7 separate regions of the Homo sapiens genome follow, and regions 1, 2, 3, 4, 5 and 6 are each linked to region 7. Evidence: promoter capture Hi-C in 16 types of primary human blood cells and fetal thymus (Javierre and others, 2016). All regions are on one chromosome and are shown on one strand. Each heading gives the region's core, a stretch centred on a gene start or on the middle of the fragment in contact. The rest is flanking DNA. Distances are from core to core; before and after follow the strand shown.

Region 1 (4,101 bases), core at 1-2,500, 360 kb after region 7:
CCCTGTCTCTGTGTTCATTTCTCACAGCTCTCCTTCCTAGAAGTGGGGCAGAGGGTGTTTCTGGGTCAATCTTACCCTTTTTTTTTTTTTCTGCAAGGGGTTATTCCAGTTCTTTCTCTTCATTTACTCTCCTCCCTTCCTCCAACAGCCACCCTGTATTGGAAGTTAGAAGATTTTCATTAAAGGCAGCTGGTTAAGAAGCTGCTGCATCCTACAGACACATGAATTGAATCCTCACCACACCGCCCCACCCCCGATGGACCTGGATGCTCTAGAAATTTCAGAGGGGCAGTGAAGCAGTGAAGCGGGAGGGACACAGGAAGATGGCTGTGGGGTATGATGGGAGGGAAGGGACCAGAATAAATACAGAAAGAACACAGGCATGAAGATTCAGTCTGATAAATGAGACAGTGCAGGGAGGGGGCAGAGCTATGGAGGTCTGGCATACACTTTGTGAACAAAGATCCTCGTGCCCCAAGGGGTGCATGTTTTCCTAGAGCTTACAGAAGAATAACCCTATGGCTTTAACATATGAAAAGATGCTTCTTGTTTGCTCACATTGAAAGGAAACCAGGTTAAAACTACAGCAACAGGCCATTTGTTATAGAAGGAATATTTGTGCCCCCCCTCCATTCATATGTTGAAATCCTAACTCCCAAGATGATGGTATTAGAAGATGGGGCCTTTGGGAGGAAATTTTAGGTCATGAGGGTGGAGCCCTCACTAATCATGAGATTAGTGCCCAGATGAAAGAGACCCCAAAGGGCTTTCTCACCCTTTTTCTGCCATTCGAGGACACAACAAAGAAGAGGGCAGTCTGAAACCTAGAAGAGAGGCTTCGCCAGGAACTGACCATGCCGGCACCCTGATCTTGGACTTCCCAGCATCTAGACTGTGAGAAAGATATTTCTATTGTGTATAAGCTACTAGGTCTATTGCACTTTGTTATGGCAGCCACAGTTGCCTAAGACACCATTTTTACCATGTTGGACAAGATATGGGAAATAGGTTCTCTTGTACATACTCTGCTTGAATCCAAATTGGAATATTCTCTTGGGAGGACAATTGGGTAATATCTTTCCAGCAACTACATTGTAAGAATGTGTCCTTCAGGTACTGTATACTTGTATGGGTTTGCACAGATGTTTGAACAAAGACATTAATTGCAAATTGTTTATAAGAGAAAAGGCTGTAAACTAACTGTCCATCAATTGGAAGACAGTAAAATTATAGTACATCCTTAGAAAGAAATACGGGCAACTGTTGATGCACTGATATAAAAAGCATTTCCAAGTGAAAGTGGGACAATGGAGAACAGTGTAAAGTAAGCTCCCCTTTGTTAAGAAGGATATATACACATACATATGTATGGAAGGATATCTATGGAAGAGCATCCAAAACCTGTGAAAAAGGCAAAGGAAGTGGACTGAGACCCAGTGCAAGGGAGACTTAACTTTCATTGTATTCTCATTAATTGTATCCATTTAAATTTTTGCATTCTTAAACTCTTGCATGTGTATTCTTTCAACTAAATCATTGATTAAAATTTTCTTTAAAACTATAGGATAATAACTGTTTAGTAAAGTTAATCAAAACAGTGTTCATATCCTCATAATGGCTTCTCAGAACTATGTAGTAAGCTACCTCTTATATAAAACCTTCCTGTGCCTTCAGAAGGTACACCACTAAGCTCACGAGCAAATGAACAGAAGGAATAGCTACCTCCAGTGTCACAATGAAGACAAACAGGCTTGGCACCTCCTTTGCTTGTTGATTTAGAGATTGGCGGTTCTCTATCTCTCCTCGTGTCTGAGTCTCAGAAGTCTGTGAATTGGGTGGACTATAATCCCTTTATTTCTGTGAAGAAAAAAAAGAGACATGTTGCCCAGATTGCTCAAAAGACATAGAACTGAGAGGAAAACAAAAAAAAAGCCAATTAGAAGAGAAGTTGTGATTTGTTTTTCCTGGATATATATGGCCTTGGGATTGTTGAAAGCTATCATAAAACAAAAATCAAACTATGAAACTTTAATTGCAACAAATATGAAAATCATAATTTGATTCCTACTAATTTTTTTCTGGCACTGCGGGCTGTGCTGTCCATGAAGTTATCATGGAAATACACCATTTCTACATACGCGTGGGCTGATGTAGAGTGGGCACCTGCCAACTAGCCCCTGAAACTCACCTTTTATACATCTTTAACCCTATTTGTGAAATAGAGAGTTCAATTTACAGCCTATGGAGACAAGTAAGGAGCATTTCCATATGGCAAATTGCTCTTAAGTAATGTTCTTTGCAAAAATGTCTGAAATGTTACTAGGATCCTTCACAGATGAAATAAATGCTTTGGAGAGGAACGGGGAGATCATGAAGTAAAAAGCAGGCATAGCTATTAAATTCTGTAACCTTGGCACCGTCACCAGTGGCTGTTTAATAAATATCCTAAAGTAATTCATGTTGTAAGTGCATCCCCTCCAAACTCTCAATGGCTTAATTTGGAGACGTGCTTGACACACTGAAGCAAACCAGAGTCACGGAGTCCTTAGAAATACTGTTATCAGGGAAAGAAAATGCCAGCAGCAGGTTTTTAAACAATGAAGGCTATTTTACCATTTGCCTAGAAGTTATTCTTTAAAATAGTCTCTTTCTTTCACTCAGAACATGGATGGATTCTGTAATCTGTACAAAGAAGAAACAGTAAGCCCTGTGTCTTCTCAAGCTTACAACTAGGCAAATAATCATGAAGAAGGAACAATAAATATTTTGGAAATATTTCAATGAATTATTTTGAAAGACAGCCAAGCAAGATAGAAAAGATGCGCTGCAGATAGTATCAGCTGTCCAATATGGAACACTCTGGAAGATGAATAGCAAGATATTTGCTTTGATGACCCGAACTACAAGGAACACAGTCACTTGTGGTTGCAATAGGGCGTGCTTGCATAGCCTTAGCATGCCTCGTAATGACAACACGAAGCTGGCCTCCCTCCAGAAGATCCAGAAAAGAGCAAAAGCAATTATGAAACATGGATGTTAAGGCCACTCAGCTTCTGCCATCAAGAAACAGCATAAAGAAAAGAAGAAAATGGAGACACTGCCTGTGGATGACCACTTCAGCAATTTTTTGAAATTTTACTAAGAACAAAGATATTCATTAAAAAGAAATGGTTGAGGATCTTAAAGTACCCAGAAGGATACTTCTAATGTTTGATGAGGACCTCTTTTAGATTCAGATCCAGATGACTGAAGGTTATAAATACATTTTTTCAGAAAAAAAAAATTGTTGCTGAGTCAGACTAGGAAGTTAGGTGAGTTCTTACTTATCAAACAAACCAGATAAATTCAAGACTTTTAATTTTAATATATAAAAAGAATATGGGTGTACCCCTGTTGCAGGAATCCAAATAAAGAAAAAGGAAGCTTTATTAAGATATGGAATAAATTGCTGTCAGCAAATTCATACCACTGCAGATTCTTTTGAAGCCAATTTCAAAGGCAGAAACATAAGTGACAAGAACACGGCTGCTCCACATGCCTGGAATGCTAAGTAAGCAGGACTCAGAACTTGATTTTTCAAAGGTGTCTTCAATGGTTGTGGGCATGGAGCATCTTCTGCATTTGGTCCAGGAGAGCATCCCAGGGACAGGCCAGTACATTTCTCCTGCCACAGAGATGGGAAGCAGCCTCTGCAAAGCCAGGCCCCTTGCTCCTCTCTCACAGCCTGCTTGAGAGTCCTCTCTCCTCTGACTTACAAAAGGAACTGGTCAGTATTTAGAAATTCTCTAACACAAGAATGTGCAAAAGAACTTATCTCCTTTAGAAAAATATTCACATTTCAGATGTGTATAAGGTTTTAAAAATATAAAACCAGAAGCAGCAGAAATGTGAACATAAAACAATGGTGGAGAAAACGAGACGGATTAGACAAAGTTTTAGGTAACAAAAATTGCAGTCTATGACTTTATAATATGTTCTCAGCTTCTTTTATAGATATATCACTTAATATCTTTTTGATACAGTAGAGACAATAGATCCACAAGCCTGCTACATCTCTTTGGTTTACAAAAATAAGACTGTTTCTTAGGTATCAAGGTTGTG
Region 2 (3,730 bases), core at 655-3,154, 290 kb after region 7:
CTGACTCCTCACAAAGGCCCCTCCTAGGAGCACTGCCTTAACAGGTAAAACCAGGCCCCACCTTTAGATTAAAAGCTTCTTCTTTAAATGAAAACACTTTGGCTGGGCGTGGTGGCTCACACCTGTAATCCCAGCACTTTGGGAGGCCGAGATGGGTGGATCACCTGAGGTCAGGAGTTCGAGAGCAGCCTGGCCAACATGCTGAAACCCCGTCTCTACCAAAAATAAAAAAACTAGTCAGGCATGGTGGTGGGCACCTGTAGTCCCAGCTACTCGGGAGGCTGAGGCAGGAGAATCACTTGAACCCAGGAGGCGGAAGTTGCAGTGAGCCGAGATCGCACCACTGCACTCCAGTCTGGGCAATAGAGTGAGACTTCGTCTCAAAAAAAATAAATAAATAAAATAAAAACACTTTTTCGCCCTGGCTCCTGGGGCTATTGGAAGAGAGGGATTTGGAGGTGGGGACCTCAGAGGAGCCACTCATCGGCCTGTCCTTTCTGTTCTTCCCCCTACACCATGTGCTTGCCTTTGGGGCCAATACACATATGTCTAGTTGGAGAGGCTCCAGCTTTATCTCTTTCTGGGTTCAAATCTGGGTATGGTAGAAGCAAAGATTAACAGAGGTCCTGTAGAATGAGTATCTCAACCTGTTTTGCCTTGAGACACCCACATAAACAAGCTGTTTAGACCTTTGCATCTAAGGGTATAATGCAGAAGAAAGAGGCACCCTGTAACTCACCCCACAACTCTCCACCCCCTGCAGGGACCTGTATCTAAATAACCTGAGGATGCTGGGCGCAATGTAATCCCAGCACTTTGGGAGGCCAAGGCAGGCGGATTGCCTGAGCTCAGGAGTTCGAGATCAGCCTGGCCAACATGGCAAAACCCCATCTCTACTAAAAATACAAAAAATTAGCTGGGCGTGGTGGTGCGTGCCTGTAATCCCAGCTACTCGGGAGACTGAGGCACAAGAATTGCTTGAACCTGGGAGGCAGAGGCTGCGGTAAGCTGAGATTGTACCACTGCACTCCAGCCTAGGCAACAGAGCAAGACTCTGTCTCAAAAAAAAAAAAAAAAAAAAAAATAGCCTGAGGGAGTAGTCAGAACTTTAGTGCCTCACAAATTTCACAAATTTCAAAATGCCTAGGAAAGATCTAGCAGTCGATCCATTCCTCCTCCCTCTGTGTTTTGGTCTCCCAAACTCCCCTTGGTTAAAGACAGTAGATTCAGCAGGCCCAGGAGCAGGGGGACCGCAGATGGAAGTGCCCTCTGTCCCGCTCTCCAACTATCCAGGATCTGAGACAGTTACTCAGGTTAGATGAATTCAGCCAAGCCTAGGGTCCTCTTCTTAGAGACTCTCAGACCACTCTTTCCAGACTACAGGTTCTCTTCCTATTAACTCTTCCCCTCCAGCAGAGCTTCAAGGGCCATCCTCACAGGAGAATCACCATGATGTGAATTGCAAGGAAGGCCCTGGGGCTGACCCTTGCCCAAGTCCACCCTCGGTCATTCGAGTCCAGTAGGCACTTCTTTCCAATTTGTCACTGCACGCTGTGTGAGTCACGTTGGTCTTAAAGAATGTCTTAGATCCCCTTTGCTCTTGGCCTCATTCTGCTATGACTGTCTCTTCCAAACTCACGTTCACCTTTCCCCAGGATTCTAGAGTCTCCACTGCTTCGAGCATCCAAGGAAAATGACCTGTCTGTTCTTAGGCAACTTCTACTGGACTGCACCTGTGACGTTCGACAAAGAGGTGGGATCTGGATTTAATGGGATGGAGGTGGGGGCAGAAGAACCTACTCCTCCTCCCCAAGACTTCGAGTTTGTGAAATAGGGCCTTGGAGGGTGTCTCTGGAGCCTGAGGCCCCTTCCTCAAGGGAATCTGAAAAGTGTCTAACATCTCTGTCTTACTCCAATCCAGGAGCCCTGGGGGAGACGGCGCTGCACATAGCAGCCCTCTATGACAACTTGGAGGCGGCCTTGGTGCTGATGGAGGCTGCCCCAGAGCTGGTCTTTGAGCCCACCACATGTGAGGCTTTTGCAGGTAAGGAGCCTACATGGTAATTCAAGGTGGAAACTTTGAGATGGAGGGTGTGCTGTTGTCTCTTAAAATTGGCCTCTGAAGGATGGGTTGGGGTGGGGTGATGGAGGGTCAGGAGGATGGGCTCCGTTGAGTTGGGAGAAATGCAAAGGTCCTGGTCTTGGCTTTTACCAATCTGTGGCTTCCTTCAGCATTTCCTTTCAAACCTCCCATAGTCCCTGTAGGACCTATCTCAATTTCTTTCTCTCATAGCAACATGAGAATGATTATATTCATAGCAATCCCCTGCTGGCTCCCAATAACTGAAGGGTAGGTCAATGAGCAGGGCAGCCTGAGGGATGAATTGCTCTTAGTCCCAGGCCACCCTGCCAAGCCCAGGGCAGAAGTCTAGCAAAGATCTATCAGGAACCTCCTGAGAGGGATGGTGGGGGATGCTGTGTCCCTGAGAGAACTGGGGACAGAGGGAGACCCTGATGATGGCTGTCTCTGGGCCAGGTCAGACTGCACTGCACATCGCTGTTGTGAACCAGAATGTGAACCTGGTGCGTGCCCTGCTCACCCGCAGGGCCAGTGTCTCTGCCAGAGCCACAGGCACTGCCTTCCGCCATAGTCCCCGCAACCTCATCTACTTTGGTGAGAGCAGGGTTGGGCTTGAAGGATGGTTGGCTGGAGAGGCGGGCAAGGCAGAGGGAGGCCAGGGCATGAGGGTCCTGCCTTCAGCTCCATCTGTTGGGCAGTTGAGAGGGGCAGCCCTTCTAGGGCTTAATTAAGCCAGAGGCCCATTCCCCTGATGGTTCCTTCCTCTGGTTCTGCTGGACGAGTGTCCCTCAGCCTAGAACTGAGATATGGGGGATGAGGAGGAGGCCCTTATTTGGGGGAGACTGCCCACCCCATCCTGCCATCCTGCGTTCTCCTGCCATGGATCTCTCTGTGTCCACAGGGGAGCACCCTTTGTCCTTTGCTGCCTGTGTGAACAGCGAGGAGATCGTGCGGCTGCTCATTGAGCATGGAGCTGACATCAGGGCCCAGGACTCCCTGGGTAAGAGCTGGGATGGGGAGGGGAGCTGGGATGCTGTGGGGAGCGAGGGACAGGGTAAGGAGTGGAGCTGGGACCTTTAGGAAGACCCCAGAGTGGGGATGGGGACATCAGGGACTTTAGGCCAGTGGCCACATGATACCCTGCGTCCTCCCCAGGAAACACAGTATTACACATCCTCATCCTCCAGCCCAACAAAACCTTTGCCTGCCAGATGTACAACCTGCTGCTGTCCTATGATGGACATGGGGACCACCTGCAGCCCCTGGACCTTGTGCCCAATCACCAGGGTCTCACCCCCTTCAAGCTGGCTGGAGTGGAGGGTAACACTGTGGTAAGAGACGCTCCCCATCCCTGAGGTGTCTTTCTAATGACCCTCAACCTATCCTGCTGGCCCTGGGAGAAATAGAGGTGAAGGGCCCACCTTTCTCTAAAATCCCTTTTCCCCAAACTCCCCAAAGGGATGGTGGTCCCTTGCTTCCTATTCCATCACTGAAATCTTCAGCTTCATGGTCCTTGACTCAAGAGGATTTGAGAACCTTACCTTAATGCATGTGCTGTGATAACCCAAAGCTCTAGCTTCCTTTGCCTATTTTCTTCTTTCTGCACTTTCTGGGGTTTTGGAGCAGGAAAGATGACAAAAAAGGGAAAGC
Region 3 (3,683 bases), core at 895-3,394, 340 kb after region 7:
GGGGTTCAAGGTTTGGGTTCTAGCACCTTCCCCCAACCCAGCCCGAACCCACTGACCCAGGTGGGTGGGGACGAAGCTAATCCAATTGAACTGTTTGCTCAGGACTGCGTGGCCTGGCCTCTGCCCAGCGGCAGGAACACAAATAGCTTTCCACTTGAAGGGGTCCTTCTCTCCCCTGCCCTACCTCAGCATCCACCTCCCTCCACACACCGACTCCCCCCACACACAGCACATATGACACACACCCCATGACATACATACACACACAACACACACCATACATACACACATAGTAAACCCACCATACACTACACAAATCATGTATACACCACACACACACACACACATCATGTACACGCACACATACCTTAAAGGTACCATATACATCACCCACTACACACCATACACACAACACACATGCAACAATCTTTCCACAATACGTATATACACAACACACATGTCACACATACCATCACAGACACCACATCCACACGCTCTACAGGCCATACCTACACATATCACATATATCATACACACGTAGACACATACCAAACACACCACAGGCACATCATATACATACAGCATACCACACACAAAACACCCCACCGATGCACATCATGAACACACGCATAAACACCACACACAAATGCACATGGGCACACACGCCATACACACGCCACACACACACTCCCCTGGCTGGGTCTTCCAACTCTGAGTCAGAGAAAGTTAGGACAAAACAGACTCTGAAGCTAGGAAGTGATCCACACACCTGTGACTCTGAACACCCAGACACCTGCCCCTAGGCTATTGGCACCTGGCTGGCACCAGGAGGTTGGATAAGCCCGGGCTTCTGCCCCTTTCCAGTGGAAAAGTTGAACTAAATGACCTTTCCGACAGCTTCCAGCAAGCTCATGATGGAGCTCTTTGTTGTGGGAAGACGATGGGCCATGCTTAATGCCATCATTCTTCTGTATGACTGTGCGAGTCACTTAACCTCTCTGAAGCTCTGTTGGCCAGTTAGAATGAGGAGGTGTGCTAGGGAGAAAGAAGTGGGCTTGGAATGAGGGATGGGTGTGAATCTTGCCTCTGCCACCTCTATGGCCTTGGGAGAGTTCCTTTACCATGGTGAGCTTTGGTTTCTCCCATCAATACAATGTAGATAATAATACCTGCCTTGCAGGTTTGTTACGAGTTTACCTGGGAACGCTCAGTTAAAAGGCCCAGCACACAGTAGCAGCTGAATGTCACCTCCACGGGAAGGCTGGCAGATAGAATACTTGCAAAACGTGGGGTATATTTATACTAAAAAATTCTTTGTTGTTTATCTAAAATTCAAATTTGACCACGTGTCCTGTATTTTATCGGGCACCCACCCCATGCACGGGGCATTGTGGACAGTCTGTGGAGCTCCTGAGCAGGGGGTCTGCCCAGAGCTAGATTTTGTGCCCTGGCTGGTGAGCGAAGAATGCATTTTACATCTTTGGGGGTGGTTAGAAAACAACCACCAAAACAAAACCAAAGAATAACGTACATTAGAGAGTGTACATGGCTTGCAAAACCTAACATCTTTACATTTCCTATCAGCCCTTCCAGAAAAAGTTTGCTGACCCAAAGGTGATGGGGACTGAGAGGAAAGTCTGGGAGAACTGAGTATCTTCGCAATTTATATACCTATTTCAGGCCTGGCAAGAATGAAACTGGAAGAGTCCAGAAAATGGAATTCTCCAGGACATAAGCAGGGGGAGGCAGAGAGTGAGGCAGGTGGTCGGCAGAAGAGGCACTGTGGGAAAGTGGGGCGCTCCCTCCTGGGAGTCCTCAACATTGGGAATGGGCCTGCCCTGACTCCTCCCCTCCTTTCTCACTGCCTAGAGTCTCTCAGGGTAGGTCACTGGGTGTTCTGACGTCCAAGGGAGGCCTCGCCAGTCTTTCTGAAGGCCTCCCTGGTTGTGACTGGCCTGGGGGCAGGGAGAGAGCCCTGGGTGGAGAAAGAATTGGAGTTGGCACAAGTCCCCCTTGGTAGGCAGGTCTGTGGCTGGCCTGTGTCTTTAAATCTCAGGTAATTTGGGAGGAGGGAGGGCGTGTCCGTGCAGCTTTGGCTCCTCCTGCTCACTCCCAGCAGGAGCTCCAGACAGGCCAGCCCTGCAGAGTCCTGGCTGGCTCTGCCAAGTGTAACAAACTCACAGCCCTCTCCAAACTGGCTGGGGCTGCTGGGAGACTCCCAAGGAACTCGTCAGGAAGGCAGGAGACAGGAGACGGGACCTCTACAGGGAGACGGTGGGCCGGCCCTTGGGGGGGCTGATGTGGCCCCAAGGCTGAGTCCCGTCAGGGTCTGGCCTCGGCCTCAGGCCCCCAAGGAGCCGGCCCTACACCCCATGGGTTTGTCACTGCCCAAGGAGAAAGGGCTAATTCTCTGCCTATGGAGCAAGTTCTGCAGATGGTTCCAGAGACGGGAGTCCTGGGCCCAGAGCCGAGATGAGCAGAACCTGCTGCAGCAGAAGAGGTAAGGCCCCCTTGGTCTGCTCCCTTCCCCACCTCCCCAGGCCTGCACCTCTACCCCTCACCCCTCCCTCACCTCCCGTCTTTGTTTGGCACCTTTGGCTGGACAGATGGTGCTCCCAGGCCCGGACTGGCTCCTTGGGAGCATTCTGTCTTAAGAGCCTCAGCCTGTAGGGCTGGTGAAAGAGGATGGGGTTGAGATGGGCACAGGTGTTCACTATCTTAAGATCTAATTCGATTCTGCAAGCCTCTTGTGAGTACTTCTCTAAGGGCCAGGCGTCTTGCTGGGGCTTGTAAGGATAGAGCATCACAGCCCCTCCACCCAAGAGGGGACGGCAGGTGAGGACAATGCCTTCTGTATCTCCACTGCTTGCCTCTAGAACAGTCTCTCTGGCAGGAACACATAGTATACATATGTTCGCATGGAGGAATGAGTGAACGATTGAATGAATGAAGCAGAGAGAACCGCGGACACCAGGAACCAGAAAATAAGACAAAATGTGAAAAAAGTGACCATTCCTATGTATCTGTCTCATCAGACACTGACCAAGGCCTTACTATTTGCCCAGCACTGGGGGGATATGAAGACCTACAACGCTCAAACCCAACCTTGAGGTGTATTTCTCTCTCAGTGCGGGTGGGGACTGAGGGGAAGCGGGTCAAAATAACAGATGTTCCGAGGACCTGTGCTCTTCCGCATTCAGGTGGTGGAAATCGAGACTCTAGCGTTTAAGCCCTAAGGACATTCACTGGTGGCTTCCAGCCCCTGAAAACTTCCTAAACCCGTGTCCTGCTTTCTTCACCATGACAGCTTGGAGTACAGAGCAGGAGAGGAGCAGGGAATCGGAACTCAGGGCTATCCCTGCATGTGGTCTCTTCTTCAAGGTCTCTAATAGAGTTCTCTACCCAGTTGGTGGCATGCTAGAAGGAAGTCCTGCCTGTTGGGGCTTTCCCTGGGTCACGAAGGAGGCAGATGTCTGGTCATAGAGGAAAGCCTGAAGTCTTTGTGCCTTAGGGTTTTTCTCTGACCCCAAGAGTAGGAGCCTGCTTTAGCCTGACCGGGGAGGCTGCCTGGAGGCCCCTGTGTTTTCTTTTGCTGAAGGATTCTGGGTTGGGGATGGTCTCTTTCTGTGAATTATGGCTTCCCATCTCTCCAGCCGCCCACCTCTCCCCCAAGGCCTGGGAGA
Region 4 (3,572 bases), core at 531-3,030, 380 kb after region 7:
TCTCCTCACTGACCCATTGGCAGGCCATTCTGTCTTTCTACCAATCAAGCTGCTTCTAGGTGGTGTGGCACATGATAAAACCAGATAATTCTATGTGCGTAAGTCTACGTCTACACTTACAACACCATAAAATATGTTCTTTGGTCAGAGATGATGTCAAAATGATGAATAAGTCATTCAATAAGTCCAAGAATGATGGTGCTGACAGAAACATTGTGGGTAAGGAAGGAAAATTCTTCTTGAGAATATGTACATACTCCTGTGAAATTAAGTTATGTCTCCCTAATGATAGATAGATAGAAGGGATTCAAAGTAATCAGGCTTCTGGGAGATCTCCTTAAACACCTGAGAATGGTGCTATGATGGGGACTAAACTTTAGTATCTCCTTTTGCTGGTGCTGATAACCTCCTATTAGCCTTGCAAAGGAAGTCCATGTAACTGAGCCCATGTAGCACTTCCATTGATGTCTTTGGAGCGGCCTTGCACATGGGCTCATGGAGAAAGTCCCGGGATGGAGCATCCATTCACTTTCTCACTAAGATCATTCATCCTCCTTAGCATGCTATTTCTTCCTAAAAAATTTTATTTTCTTCCTTAAGATATTCTAGCAGAATGCTCTTACTTCTTGTTCTAATATGAACTTCTTATTCCCTGGTTTTACCACAGAACCAACATCCTGGCCATCCTGAGATTTAATTTTACTGAATTTTGGAGTTTGTTTCACTGTACTTTGATTTCTTATCTTCAGCTTTTTTTCCCTTAGGACTACATTTTTTGTGTGTGCTGGAATTCATATTTTAATACACTTTATAGAAAAACTTTCATCTCTGTCTGTATTAAATGACTTTATTCTATCTTAATGCTTTATTAATATTTTGGTTAGTTATAGTATTTGAGATGTAAAACATTTTCTTTTATAGTCTGACTGAAGTCCTGACTTCATTTACTTCTAGTACTTAATGTTGCTGGTATGAAGTCAGCTGCCAATCTGATTCAATTCTGCCCATGATAATTTGTTTTATTTATTTTTTCTGCAGTTTGTAGGGTTTTCTTTTTATCATTTCTATTCTGAAGTTGTATAAGAATATGTAAAAAATATTTATCTACTGTGCTTACCTTTCCCCTGACTGCTTTTCATCCTTTTTTTTTGTTTGTGATTTATATGTTTTCTATTAATAGCTTTTCTCCTGAAATTATCATTTAAGCAATAATTTTTAACTTATGTCAACTGTCCCTTATTCTTTTTCTTTTTCATTTTACTCTTTTTTTAAATAAATAAATATAACGTTTTCTCAATTTTTTTTTTTTTGAGTTGGAATTTTGCTCTGTTGCCCAGGCTGGAGTGCAGTGGCACGACCTCAGTTCATGGCAACCTCCACCTCCTGGGTTCCAGTAATTCTCCTACCTCACCCTCCCAAGTAGCTGGGATTGCAGGCATGCGCCACCAAGCCTGGCTAATTTTTTTTTTTTTTTTGTATTTAGTAGAGATGGGGTTTCACCATGTTGATCAGGCTGATTTTAAACTCCTGACCTTAGGTGATCCGCCTGACTCCGCCTCCCAAAGTGCTGAGATTATAGGTGTGAGCCACTTCACCCAGCCTCAAAATTTTAAAAAAGAAAAATTAGACTTATAATTCAATTAAAGTTTTTGTCTTTTCCTAAAATTATATATGTTTCCTCTGGGGTCAATATTCTGTTTAATTATCTTGGTGTTTCTCTTTTATTTTGCTATATTAGTAAGAATAATTAATGCTACCTGCTATTACAAATAATCTCAAAATTCTTAGTGCCTTAATCCAATGTAAGTTTTCTTGTTTTGCTTTCACCTCACATAAAGGCCAATGCGTATCATCCTGGTCAGAGAGTTCTCCGGGGCAACTTTCCTATAAGGGATGACTCAGAGATGCAGAGCACCACTACTCTAGGATTCCCATTATTGCTGCAAAAAGTGAGAGAGGAGTATCACATGTAGGAGATTTTGTGTTTCTGGCCAAACCTGGGTGGCTTATGTTTCTACTGCATTCCCCTGTTTAGAATTGGTCATCAGGCCCAATCTAGATGTAAGGATACTGGGAAATGTAGTTTTTCTGTACTCCCCAGAGGATGATAAAATGGCTTGATAAATCTATAGAATTGTCTTTGCCAGAGCCTTTTGCTTTTCTTTTTAATCAAATGTCTGCTGATACTCAGTTGTCCGAGATGATTATGAATTTAGAAATGTTGATTATTACCTGTAACTGACTAACATTTCTTCTGATAGTAGTTTCCTTTTCCCTGCATACAAAGACTGCAAGATTTCTGTTTGTGGGTGTGGTATGTGGACAGGCAGGCTGTACTCTAAGATAAGCAAGCTGGCAGCCTGTACTCTGAAAGCCATTGCCCATCCTAGGCTGATAGTTCATTCAGCTTCACTTTATAGGCACTTTCCTTACACATACTCATGTGTGCGATGTGTGACTCAGCAGCCATTGGACATACAGTTCTTCAATCAGTTGTCTTACTTTAAGCACTTTCTCATGCTTTGACTACATCTCTAAGGGCTTATAGAATGCTATAAAAATGACCCTGCCTCACCTGCTGCTTTCTCTTCTACCTCTATTGAGCTAGTCTCTTTTCGCTCTGATTTACATTAAATCACCTTGGCCATATCCATCTCCGGTCTTTGAGAAACTCATAAAATCTTATTTATTTATTTATTGTTATTTTTTTGAGACGGATTCTCGCTCTGTCACCCAGGCTGGAGTGCAGTGGCGCAATCTCGGCTCATGGCAAGCTCCGCCTCCTGGGTTCAAGGGATTCTCCTGACTCAGCCTCCCGAGTAGCTGGGACTACAGGTGCCCACCACCACGACTGGTTAATTTTTTTGTATTTTTATTAGAGACAGGGTTTCACTGTGTTAGCCAGGATGGTCTCAATCTCCTGACCTCATGATCTGCCTGCCTCGGCCTTAAAATCTTATTTTGTTAATATTCTCCATCCAGTATTTGACAATTATGTTCTTTTCTTCTCTTTTATACTTTTTCCTATAACATATTTCTATACTTTATTGCTTTTATTTTGGAGTGAGGGGAGATAAATGAGTTTTTCTCAATCTATGACTTTGAACTTAAATTTTTCACTTAGCGTAATATGATGTTTCATGCCAATAAAACTATTTTGCATATCATTAAATAATATTCTAAAGTAAGTTTTGAAATATAAAAGATATTCCATTTTATAATTTACTATAATTTACCTACTCATTTCCTCTGATTGAATATTTAAGTTATTTCAGTATTTTCTTTCTTTCTCTTTCTTTCTTTCTTTCTTTCTTTCTTTCTTTCTTTCTTTCTTTCTTCCTTCCTTCCTTCCTTCTTCTCTCTCTCTTTCTTTCTCTTTCTTTCTTTCTTTCTTTCTTTCTTTCTTTCTTTCTTTCTTTCTTTCTTTCTTTCTTTCTTTCTTTCTTTCTTTTTTTTTGAAGGAGTCTTGCTCTGTCACCCAGGCTGGAGTGTTGTGGCATGATCTCGGCTCACTGCAACCTCTGCCTCCTGGGTTCAAGTGATTCTCCTGCCTCAGCCTCCCAAGTAGCTGG
Region 5 (4,010 bases), core at 1,044-3,543, 400 kb after region 7:
GTTTGATGGTTTCCCCCTGGATTTCCCCTCTCTGTGCCATGGCCTGGAAATTGTCTCAAGGTGGTAAGCTTGTTTTATTATAAAACTCACCTCATTTTTTCTTGTCCTTCCTTGCCTGATGTCTAATGTCTTGACAACTGGTGCTTTATGTATTTTGTCCCTTACTTTGTTTTCACTGGAAATAGAAAGTCAATTATTTTTAAAGAGATTTTTTAAATGGCACAAATACTGTTTTTTATATTTATTACATATTTACTAATGATATTCTATCTGTAATAGTCTGTAGTTGGTTTGTATCAGCTCATAGGACCCAGTTGTTAAATATCCAGAAATTCTGTGAACCAGTTGTTAGAAATTGTTGTTTGCTTGAATTTGGCCATGGTGGGAATATTTATATTCACAAAATTGGTCAAAATGCTATAAATCCAGGCTTTTCCCTTTTTTCCTTTTTATCCCTCACAGGGAGCTGGCTTACCAATTCCATCTGGACTTTTTTTCATTTTGTCTGAAAGACATCCTTTAACATTTCTTATAGTGTGTGTGTCTCCTGGCAAAGAATTATTTTAGTTTTTTCATGTCTGAGAAGTTTATTGTGCCAATGTTTTTGAAAGATATTTTCACTGGATATAGAGTACTAGGTTAAGAGGATTTTTTTTACTTTAAATAATTTAAAGATGTTTCTCCACACTCTTTTGCCTGAATTGTTTCTAGTGAGATGACTGCAGTCATTCTTAACTGTGTTCATTTGTACATAGTGTGTCTTTTATTCTCTGGCTGCTTTTCAAGATTTTTCTTTATTAGTTTTAAGCAATCCAATGATACTATATCTTGTTAAAGTGTTCTTCATGTTACTTGTGCTTGGAGTTCATGAAACTTCTTCAATCTGTGGCTTTTCCTTTTCATTAAATTTAAAACTGCTTCAGCTATTAGTTATTCAATTTCTTTTTTCTGCATTAGTCCTCCAGTTTTATAGGACTCTCAATATTAGGCTGCTTAATGCTGTTCTACAGCTCACTGATGCTCTGCTCACTTTTTTTAAGTCAGTTTCTTTCTGTTTTTATCCTAGGTGAATTCTATTACCTTATCTTTAAGTTTGACTTGAGATACCTAATCTGCTGTTAATCCCATCCAGTATATTATAAAATCACATTCATTGTATTTTGCATCGGAAGAAGTTTTATTTCAGTCTTTTTTAAATCTTCCACGTCTCTTCTTAACATATGTACACTCTCTTCTATCCTGCCGAACATATTGAATATATATTTAATAGCCTTGTCTGCTAACTCCATCATGTATATCATTTCTGGATCTGTTTCTATTGAGTGTTTTTCTCCTCCTTATGACCCATATTTTTCTTTTTCTTTGCATATATGACTTTTTAAAATTGGATATCAGATATTTGAATTTTACGTTTCTAGCTACTGGAGTATTTGTATCCCTTAAATAAATTTGGGACTTTATTTTGTGATGCAGATAGATTACATAGAAACAATTTGATATTTCTGAGTCTTGTTTTGGAGCTTTGTAAGTTGTATCTAGGACAGCCTTTAGTGTACAGCAAATTTGCTTCCCGCGACTGGGGTGATCCGCTTCTGAGAATTCTCCTCAATGCCCTCTGTGTTAGGAGGTCTCCCACTCTGGTTGATGGAAGCACCATCTTTTCCCGGCCCCGTGTGGACTTTGAGATGGTTCTGCTTGATCCATCGAGTGGTCTCTCCCTAGCCTCAGGTTGTTTTCTTGTACTCACTGGTCAGAGCAGTTGAAGAGTCACTGGGAGTCCAATGCACATTCCAGAGCACTTCCCACCCACCGCTTTCTCCTCCCTGGGTCTCTTCCCTGGAATTTTAGCCATTTTGGCCTCCTCAAACCCTGAATGCAAGTCTCCTTAACTCAGAGAGACTGCCAGGCGCTGTTTGGGCTTCTCCTCCCTATAATACTGCCTGAAAAAGATCTCCAGGCTATAAACTGAGGCCATCACAGGGTTCACTTTATTCATTTCACTTCTTTCAGGGATCACGGTCTTGAGCCATCTGTTGTCCAGAGTTTCATATATTTCATGCATTTTAATTGTTTCAGGTTTGAGGGTAAATTCAGCCTCTGTTACCCCATCATAGAATTCCCTCAGACACAGATGTGTTAAGCTTTAGGAAATTCTACTGTAACCTATCTTCATGTATTCTCTTCCTCTCCCTTTAGGTTCATCTTCTTACTGTTCTTCACCGATGTCCTGTACTTTCAGCCTCTGTACCTTTGGTCATTTCTGTACCATTCATCCTTTCTTGCCTTTTAATGTCATTTTTATCAGTCTAAAACCCTATGACTTCTCAAGGACCATCTCAGAGTCTGTCTCTTATGTGAAAGTTAAACTGAGCCTCATACCTGAAAGTAATCTCTTTCATAAACAAACTTTTTTGAGCTTATCCTGCTTGGGTTTTGCTAAGCTTCCTGGATCTGTAGGTGGATATTATTTATCATGTATGAAACATTTTGGCCACTATTTTAAAAATAATTGTTTTCTGCCACCACTTTCTCTCCTCTATGTTGAAGACTCCAATGATATGTGTGCTAGGTGGCTTGATATTGTTTGGGAGTTCCCTGAGACCTCTTCCAGTTTTTGTAGTTGTTTAGCTTTATTTTCCTCTCTCTTGTTTTGACAGTTTCTGTTGTCCTGATTTCCTGTTCATAGACATTTCTCCTATAGTGTCTACTCCAACTTAAGCTTATCTAGCAAAATTTTCATTTCAGATATTTTTCAGATCTAGAAGTTCTATTTAGCTTTTTTATAGTTTCTGTTTCATTCTTCATTATGTTGTGTTTCACTATAAATCCTTGAACATATTTAATAATAGCCATTTTAGTATATTAGCCATTTATAAGTCCCATTATTTTAATTTACCATCTCTGCCATTTCTGGGTTGATTTCAATTGCCTAATATTACTACTTAGCATAGACACATTTTCCAGCTTTTAAGTATATCCCATAATTTCTGACTGGATGCTCAACATTATGAATGTTACTTTTTTATTATCTGAATTTTGTTTTCTTCTCTCAAAGAGTGTTGAGCTTTATTCTAGTGGGCAGTTGACTTGCTTGCAGGTCAACTTGTCTGCTTTTCCTTTCAAGGGCTCTTTTAAGCTTTGTTAGGGTTAATGGACGGTAGACTTATTCTATGCCATTTGAGTCCTACTCTAAGTTATGGGCTTCCTGGGATACCTGTTCAATGTTCCAGGTATTCAACAAAGCTATTCTGATGGCTCAGAGCTGTATCTCTCTCAGCCTCGACCAAGATCTAGTAATTATTCATACTGTAGTTCACCAGCAGTTGTTAATTCTCCAGTACTTATTCTTTGCCTGCCCCTGTGGAGTTTCACCCAATGGATGCCAGCTTAGTATTTACCCAAAGACTCAATGAGACCTCATGAAAATTGCGGGGCTCTTTCCGTGCATGGCCTCCTCTTCTCTGAGCTGTGTCCTCAGCTCAGTAAGAATTTCAGGGTGCCATGCTCTGCTTGGGTCCCTCTTGTTTGTACAGTAACCCAGGAAATTCTGGGTAGAAAACGGAAATGATCACAGCACGCACCTCATTTGTCTCCTTTCACTTATGGATCACAGTTTTGTGCCATCTCTTGTCCAATATTAGAAAACAATTATCTCACGTATATTGCCCAGTTTTCTAGGTGTTTATTATTGGAGGGTATAATGGATTGAATTATACCCACCATCCCCCCAGAAAAAGATATGTTGACATCCCAACCCTCAGTACCTCAGAATGTGACTCTGTTTGAAAATAGGGTCATTGCAAGTGTGACTAGTTAAGATGAGGTCATACTGGAGCACTGTGGACTCCTAATATGACTGATGTACTTGTAAGAAGACAGCCGTGGGAAGACAGAAACACACAGGGAAAATGCCATGTAATGCCAAAGGCAGAGTTTAAAGTTATGTAGCTGCAAGTTAAGGAATGTCAAAATTTGCCAGCAAATCAACAGAAGCTAGGAATAGGCAAGGA
Region 6 (3,949 bases), core at 1,450-3,949, 300 kb before region 7:
CTCTCCCAGGGTCTCTGTTTCTGGTTTTGTCTCATGTTTCCAAACTCAAGCACCTTGGAGCACAGCAAGGATAACCTTCTGGACCCCTTCTTTTCTCTAGCTATCCTCATTCTCATAGTGATCTCCAGTTTTATCACTTTATTTTTTATTTTTGTTTTATTTATTTATTTATTTATTTATTTTTTTGAGATGGAGTCTCACTCTGTCACCCAGGCTGGAGTGCAGTCGCACGATCTTGGCTCACTGCAACCTCTGCCTCCTGGATTCAAGCAATTCTCCTGCCTCAGCCTCCCGAGAGGCTCAGATTATAGGCATGTGCCACCATGCCTGGCTAATTTTTTGTATTTTTAGTAGAGATAGGGTTTCACCATGTTGGCCAAGCTGGTCTCGAACTCCTGACCTCAAGTTATCCACCCACCTCAGCCTCCCAAAATGCAGGGGTTACAGGCATAAGCCACTGTGCTCAGTCCAGTTTTACCACTTTAAATGCCACCTACATTTGATGACTTCAAATTGGTACTCTAAACTGGACTTATCCTGTGAACTACATGTAGATCACATGTCCATTGAGACAGATATCCAAGTGGATCTGTCTAAATACCCATTAGACAGATCCACTTGGGTATCTAATAGACATCTCAAACTTAGCATGTCTTGCACTAAACCTCTGATCTTACCTCCTCTAAAACTTTCTCTACCTGAGGCTTTCCTCCTTTCAGGTAATGATACCTCTCCACTTCCTGTTGCTCAAGGAAAAAAAAAGTCACTCTGACTCCTCTATTTCTTTACACTCCTTAGCTAATCCATCAGAAAATCCTGCTGGCTCTATATTTTTATTATATCCAGAATCCACTTATATCTCACCACTTCTACAGTGAATCTTATTCAAGTCACGTTTTCCCTCACCTGAATTATTTGAGGCTGACTGCTTTGCTTTCACCTGGTCCCATACAGTCTGTTCCCAACACAGCAGGCAGCATGATCCTTTTTTTACCATCCTGTCCTGAAAGCCCCAAGTGGCTACCCATCACACTCAGAATAAAGCCTAGTTCCCACAATCACCTGGAAGGCACCCCCAACTGGCTGTCCATTATCACTCTTCTGGACTCACCTGCTGCAATTCCATCCTTGCTTACTCCACCAGAGCCACACTGGCCTACTTGCTGGGATGGGAACATGCCAGACCTGCTCCCTGCTCAGAGCCCCGACTAACTAATTCTTCTGCCTGTAATGTCCATCCCCGACATAGCCACATAATTCACCTCTTTACCGCCTTCACGTTTTGCACCAAATATCACTTTCCCATGAAAGCCTTCCTCAAACATTCTATTTAAAATTGCATGCCGCCCCTCACATTCCCCATCATCCTCCTTTATTTTACCCCACTGGACTTATCACTTTCTAATATGCTACATAACTGACTTAATTTGATGATAGTATATCTCTTCTCTCTAGAATATAAGCTTCATGATGACAGAGCTTTTGGTCTGTTTTGCTCACTGATCTGTGCCTCAGTATCCAGATCACAGCCTGACACATAGTAGGTACTCAATAAGCATTTGTTAATGAATCAATGAATGAATAAATTAATTAAAACATGACCTCTAGAGTTCTATGATTCTGACATACATACACACAGGCAGGATCATAATCACATACTCAAAAGCAAGCCTTAAGCTCTCAAAGTTGAGAGGATCTGCCCGAATGGCAATCCACTGGTGCAGGCTTCCTACAGCAGTTTCCTGCAGACATGTGAGAGTTAGGGAATTCATTCATGCATCTGGACAGCCAGCTGCCTGCTCTAGCCATTGAACAAATGAAGACATCTTAGACCTGTGGGCACCTGATGCTTCACCATGGGATCTAGAGGGGGCCGCCTGGTCCAGCATGCGGAGGTGGGAATTGCTGTGAGAGAAGCAAGAAGCACTCTAGGGAAAGTGTGTGACCAGTGGGACAGACAGCACACTGGGCAGGTGGGCGGCTTGAGATGGGAAGAGCTGTTTTTCTCTGAACAGCTGCAGAGGAGTTGTCTGTGTGCCAAGCCCCTCCTAGGTCTCCAGCCTTGAAGAGGGTTTTTGTGGTGAGTAATTAATCACAGGACGCTTTTGCTCTGGCCCTCCCTTTGGAAGAGACTAGTATACTCCTCTCCTTCCTATCTCCCCACCCCTCCAGGGAAATAAAGGAAGCTAAGGTTATAGTTCTGACCAGACATAGCTCATCAGAAGCTACTGTGGAAATCCCCATTCTGGCTGCTCACCCTTCTCCCAGACTCTCCATCTCTTGTTTTTCACCGTTCAAGCTCTCCCTCTCCTCCACACCTGCCCACGGCATCTCCACAGTCTCCTCTCTATTTTGCCTGGGAGCTCTCCCACCTCCAAGCACCATGAACTGAGTCCCTCTCTGCCCACCTCCAAGTTGTTCCTCTCTCTGCACCCAGGTAAGGAGAAGCCTGGCATTGGGGGGATTGGTGGGCAAAGGAGAAGGAAGCACCAAGAGTAGAGCATGAAAATAAAGAAATCGAAACACTTTCCAGCTTGCTTTGCCCACAAGAGACAACTCCTTGTGACACGAGCATCTGTTCCCACGCAGCCACCCTCCTTCCACCGGATCTGGCGCCCCACATCAGAATCACGAAGCACACAGTGTTTTGTGTGCTCCAGCCTGTGGCACCCTCCAGTCGCGGGTACACTGAGGTGGAGTGAGGCGGGAGGAACATGAGGCAGCTACCGATGCCAGGACTTGGAGGTTCAGCTTCCATTTTTATCAAATGATTTTGCCCAAGTGCATCCGTTTTGCCTCAGCTTTCCCATCTAAAAATAGGAGAGTCTTGTCTTCTTCTCAAGTGCACAGAGGATTGCATGGTGAGAGGCATCCAGTGATGTGTTGTTTCTGTAGAATAATCTGTAAAAATAGAATTGAGGAAAATATTATTTCTTCAACTCTTAGAAGCAGAATAGAGAATATTCAAGAAGATGATATCCTTGATTATTTTTCAGCTCCATGGGAGAACAAATATTTGACCTCAGACAAAGCCTAGGAAGGAAAGTCTCCATGTATTACTCCTTTGTCTTGGTCAAAGAACAAAATCCCCAGGCCCCAGACCACATCAATAACAGGATCCGCCACTGAAGAGACTCCCCACTGATGAGACTGGGCCCCCCTCAGAGCCCAGCCTCGGGCCTCCTGAATCATTTAGGCATTTATTGCTCTTTCTCAGCAACCACAGGGATCTATTCTGGAAACACTAAGGCAGGCAATTGGATGGCAGGGAAATGATCCCGTTGGAAAGAGCCCCCGAAGCCAAAATCACTCACATCACTCTCAGGGGTGACAGATTTTCCAAGGGGCCTGCAACTTTCCGATGCAGCATTTGAAAATAATCAGCCACACTCCTGGAAAGTGGCTTGCCTGGGAGATCAACATCGTTTTTCTCACCAGTGTTTACTTTTGCATTTTGATGAATGATGAAAACACCTTGGCAGTACTGAGATAGCCTTGGTTTCCTCATCCAGGCAGCTCCCTTGCCCTGGTACTTCATTCCAGCTCTCATCTATGGCCAGCAAGAAACAGAAAAACATCTTTTAGAAGGAGGGTCTTGCTGGGTTTTCGAGGGAGATCACTTGCTGTTTTGTAGCACAAAATGATGTTTAGAAGTTTAAAGTATGTTCAAGTCTACTAAAATCAACTTCATGGAAAATGATAGTTATTTTTAGAAACAAATTTTGAAAACAAACTAGCTTCCCTATTAAATGCTAATATTTCTCAAGTAGATAAAGTAACTAATCCTCAGGCCTAGGGTCGTTTTCAAAATGTGAAAGTACAATATCATGCATCTATGTGTGATGAAGTTGACCTTCACAGCACCAGAACTGGGACAGTCCCTCCACCAGATAATTTTGATGTGGAACATTCAAGTGCTCATTTTTGAAGCTTATCCCTCGTCCTCTGG
Region 7 (3,744 bases), core at 1,069-3,568:
TCTCTGAAATGTGTGCTTGAGAGCGCTGGAGCTCAGAACTAGACTTTGCTACTGACCTCATATTTTCATTTGGGGGCTACCTAAGCTTGGTATGATCCACAGCATTCTTTTTTCATTTTCCTCAATAATCATGATTTAAAACTTACCTAATAAAAGACAACTTCAGATTCCTAACGTTCAAGCTCTAAGATATCTGGGGAGAGGGTGTCCAATGTTTTGTGAACAGCTCTTTGAGACAATGCTGCTGGAACCATCCTGAACAATGACAATGGAGAATAATGTTTTTCCTCTTCTCCAGCAGCCTGCCCCAAGTAACCCGCTCTTGCCCCACTATTTACTTCAAGGTAACCCAGAACTGGTAAAACCAGAGGCACAGGTGCCGCTAGCATTGCCACAGAGTCAGGAGCTGAGCAAAACAGACGCTTACTTACTCTGGCCTCTTCCTTTTCTCTTTCTGCTTCCTGCCCACTTCACTCTTTTCCCTGCATTCTTTCTTTCCTCTCTGCTCACTTTGTCCCCTCCCATTTGGAGAAATAAAGCATTGAACTGACCCTTCACATATCCATCTGCCGTTCTATAACTCATCTTTATCTGCAAACATCCTCTCTAGACTATTGGTTTTTACCCATCCCCTCCCTTTTGGCATTATCTTCTGGAACTCCTGGGATCAGGATGTCACCCTATCACTCCACTAATGGCACACATGGCATCCTTTTAGTCAAATCCAGAGCCTTTTTCTTCACCCTTTACTTTCCTCGGAACTCTGCAGCACTTGATAATTTCCAGCAGCCTTTCTTTCCTGAATCTTCTTTTTCTGTAGCCACTCTGGTTTCCCTTCTACCCCGTGGACTGAGTGCTGTGCTCTGCTTCACCAGCCCTAACTGTGTGTTAGTTGGGTGTCTTAAGTAGGATGATCATGTAATTCTTCATCCAGACCATGATATTCTTGAGAATTAAAGGATGCTCAATTGACAACAGACAATAAACAGAGATTGTCCCTGGCAAACCGATATGTCTGGCCACCCTCTCCTTAAGGCTCAGGAGGAGAAGAAAGTGGAGAGATCTCAGGGCAGGATATGAATGAACATAGTTCAAGGAGCTTTCAAAGTCCATCTTCAGGTTTCTTAGTTACTTCTGTTTAGAATCTCAAGTTAAAAATTCAGCTTCATATTTATAAAAGGATCACGTTATCTGAGAAGTGTCAGAGCAGGTTTGGGAGAGAAGAGACGGGTGAGGAGAGAGTTCTACCTGAGGCAAAGGCAGAAGTGGTTGGACCAGGTCCCGCAGAACTCCGTGAGTTCCAGTCACAGAGTCTGCCCTTTTAGGTAAAGAGGAACTTGGTGCTGAAACCGCTTCCAGGCTCTTCTCAGCCCAGGGTTGCCCAAGATCAGTTGTACTGAGTGGCCGGCAGGGTAGGCAGCCATGATGATCTTGCACAAAATATTCCAGGAACTGTAAGTGTCAAAGATGTTGGACGTGGAAAGAAATAGAGCAATTGCATTGAAAATGTAGAGGATGAGAAAGTAGCTGGTGGCTTTGATGGCCCCTATGTGAGCCTTCATGCTGGGGTCCCTGGACCCTGTGGCATTGCTTCCCATGTGTAGGGTGTGTCTCTTGAGAGAGAGGATCAGCAGGGTGGCTGCCAGGATGAACATGATCAGAGGAACGAAGATCCCCATGTTATAGAAAAATACCAGGTTGACCATATTGGTCTCAGAGAAGTACTTCTTCTCCGTGGAGTTGGAGGAGGGGATAGGAATGGAGCTATTCACATACACATTGAAGACATCTCTCGAGAGAGGAAAGCTGAAGCTTAAGGAAACCAACACTGACAGCCTGAGAAGCCAAGGCATCAGCACTATGATTTTCCTCTTCATCAGGAAGAACAAAGGATGATTGAAGTTTGCAATTCTAAGACAATAGAAGACTTTGAGCCAGGCAGCAAACCAGAGATTGGAATGGTTCAGAAAGACAGTGATGACTTTGAAGAGGATATACACTGAGTTTTGGTTATAAACAATTCGGAATAGCAGACTGAAAATGTTCTCCAGCATCATCCAAATCTGTAGCAAGAGCCTGGAAAAGCTCAGCATCAACATAATGCGGTCACCAGTGGGGAGTGTTTTGCCCCTGGCCCACTCAGCCCCATAGATGGCCGTGATGAAGCCACTCCCAAGGATGCCAGTGATGCACTCTATTCCGGAGACCACCAAAGTGAAGGTGACCTTGAACTTGGATATGTCTTTATCTGTGGCATCTGTGTTCACCGTTGCCATTCTCTTTGATCCTGACTTTCAGGTTTCTGCGCCAAGAATGGGTAACTGCTCTGCAATCTTCTGACCCTTGCTCAATGTTATAATTTCTGCCGCCCTCATTAATGGTTATTTCCAATTTTTCTCCATTTGTTTATCACATGACTACAAGTTAGAGGCTTCACATGCAAATAATGAGAGGATCTGGTTACTGGGTCTGTCTCAATTTTTCATAAAGATACATTTGTCTTGGGCTTTCAGAAGCTCACTGGAAATAATTTGAGACATGTTTCTAGCTCAACACCTTCTTACCTTATTTACTTTAAGTCCACATTTACCTGATAAGCAATGAATACAAGGCCTTTTTACTTGTCTCACAAGATCTCTGTTACCTGCTAAATTATTTGTAAAAGCTCATACAGCTTTTAAAATCTGTTTTCCCCACTTCTTTTCTTGTCTCTCTTATTTTGGGAGAGAGTTTTATTTTGATAGTTACCATGTTTGTGAATAAGAAATTCCCATAAGCTCATATATGAACATCTTTTACTTAGAATTGAGTTTCTTCCAAAAAGGCCTGCTATTATAATGTCCTCGAATAGTATATAGAAAAGCCAAAATTGGATGCTATTCGAGTTGGAGAGAAGGAAGTCTCCATAGTCCCAGTTTTTATTGTTTGTGTATGTGTCATCAATTTCAGCTTACTGAGATCCCACATGACTATTTGAGCTCAGAATCAGGTAGAATGAGCCTGGGGAGAATTCAGTGTTCTGGACATGGTGTTGAAGTTTGGAAATGTGATAAGGTACTATGACTTGAAATTTAATTTCCTACTTTTTAACCCTGGCTGTGAACCAGAATGAACTCTGGCACTTTACAAGAATATGTAGATGCCCAGGACTCGTCCAAATCTAGGAAATCAGAACTGGACTAGGGCTCAGGCATGCTATCTTTTAAAAAAGCCGAAAGGTCTTGTTGCTCATAGTCAGGATTGAGATCCAAAATCTTAGCTGGAAACCAATGAGCCTTGGGTCAGATTTGGCCTGTAGTCATTTTACCTTGCATTGGTTAATGCTGTACAGCATTAATCCACCAGTGTGTAACTTTTCTTTTTGAGGGGTTCTATTGGCAAACATTTAAACTTAGGAGATTACTTATATGCATGCACAAAAAATCTATCTTCTCTTGAAAAATTAGAAGATTTGGCAGTATTGGGTCTTCATAGTGAACTGGCTGAAGCTGAGTAATGGCTGCCCATTTTAAACAAGGTATATACTTTTCAGTTTGTTGACAATACTAATTCCTAGTGTCTTCTTGACACAGAAGCTGAGTGCCAGTTATCATTTTCCAGTGTGCTTACCCTGTTATTTTTATTTGATTATTTTTCTTTTTGAGACTGGGTCTCACTCTATCACCCAGGCTGGAGTGCAGTGGTGTAATCATGGCTCACTGCAGCCTTGACCTCCATAGCTCAGGTGATCCCCACACTTCAGCC

What was found. The method cuts DNA at HindIII sites, captures the fragments that hold promoters and counts their contacts. A CHiCAGO score of 5 or more calls a contact.
Region 1: a fragment that was not itself captured here is called in contact with the fragment with the promoter of TAS2R40 in region 7 in 6 of 17 cell types (M0 macrophages, M1 macrophages, naive B cells and 3 more); the score reaches 10.8 in M0 macrophages.
Region 2: a fragment that was not itself captured here is called in contact with the fragment with the promoter of TAS2R40 in region 7 in 4 of 17 cell types (neutrophils, M2 macrophages, M1 macrophages and 1 more); the score reaches 9.1 in neutrophils.
Region 3: the fragment with the promoter of TRPV6 here is called in contact with the fragment with the promoter of TAS2R40 in region 7 in 16 of 17 cell types (M2 macrophages, total B cells, M1 macrophages and 13 more); the score reaches 22.1 in M2 macrophages.
Region 4: a contact is called between a fragment that was not itself captured here and the fragment with the promoter of TAS2R40 in region 7, in 6 of 17 cell types (naive B cells, M2 macrophages, naive CD8 T cells and 3 more). The highest score is 7.0, in naive B cells.
Region 5: a contact is called between a fragment that was not itself captured here and the fragment with the promoter of TAS2R40 in region 7, in 1 of 17 cell types (total B cells). The highest score is 8.0, in total B cells.
Region 6: a fragment that was not itself captured here is called in contact with the fragment with the promoter of TAS2R40 in region 7 in 1 of 17 cell types (M0 macrophages); the score reaches 5.7 in M0 macrophages.

Annotation. Positions count from the first base shown.
Region 1 is chr7:142,858,808-142,862,908 of GRCh38, reverse strand. EPHB6 (EPH receptor B6) reads right to left here. Exons shown (of 20, transcript NM_004445.6): 2 at 1,723-1,857; 3 at 776-892; 4 at 76-153. Among named protein-coding and RNA genes, the nearest start is that of EPHB6, 5.8 kb to the right of the region's middle. The HindIII fragment of the contact is 2,948 bases long and covers 1-2,724 here.
Region 2 is chr7:142,928,372-142,932,101 of GRCh38, reverse strand. It overlaps TRPV5 (transient receptor potential cation channel subfamily V member 5), which reads left to right. Exons shown (of 15, transcript NM_019841.7): 2 at 1,656-1,753; 3 at 1,922-2,044; 4 at 2,537-2,674; 5 at 2,982-3,080; 6 at 3,236-3,411. Among named protein-coding and RNA genes, the nearest start is that of TRPV5, 3.5 kb to the left of the region's middle. The HindIII fragment of the contact is 3,654 bases long and covers 78-3,730 here.
Region 3 is chr7:142,884,206-142,887,888 of GRCh38, reverse strand. TRPV6 (transient receptor potential cation channel subfamily V member 6) reads left to right here and starts at 2,144. Exons shown (of 15, transcript NM_018646.6): 1 at 2,144-2,500. The coding sequence starts at 2,253. The HindIII fragment of the contact is 18,692 bases long and covers 1-3,683 here.
Region 4 is chr7:142,837,479-142,841,050 of GRCh38, reverse strand. No RefSeq gene overlaps it. Among named protein-coding and RNA genes, the nearest start is that of EPHB6, 16 kb to the left of the region's middle. RefSeq lists a cis regulatory region at 1,877-2,578. The HindIII fragment of the contact is 5,151 bases long and covers 1-3,572 here.
Region 5 is chr7:142,817,533-142,821,542 of GRCh38, reverse strand. No RefSeq gene overlaps it. Among named protein-coding and RNA genes, the nearest start is that of EPHB6, 36 kb to the left of the region's middle. The HindIII fragment of the contact is 300 bases long and covers 2,144-2,443 here.
Region 6 is chr7:143,517,883-143,521,831 of GRCh38, reverse strand. It overlaps EPHA1-AS1 (EPHA1 antisense RNA 1), which reads right to left. Exons shown (of 5, transcript NR_033897.1): 4 at 3,315-3,550; 5 at 1-2,901. Among named protein-coding and RNA genes, the nearest start is that of TAS2R41, 42 kb to the right of the region's middle. RefSeq lists a silencer at 1-156. The HindIII fragment of the contact is 2,467 bases long and covers 1,466-3,932 here.
Region 7 is chr7:143,220,611-143,224,354 of GRCh38, reverse strand. TAS2R40 (taste 2 receptor member 40) reads right to left here and starts at 2,318. Exons shown (of 1, transcript NM_176882.2): 1 at 1,276-2,318. The coding sequence starts at 2,276. The coding sequence ends at 1,305. The HindIII fragment of the contact is 3,585 bases long and covers 1,815-3,744 here.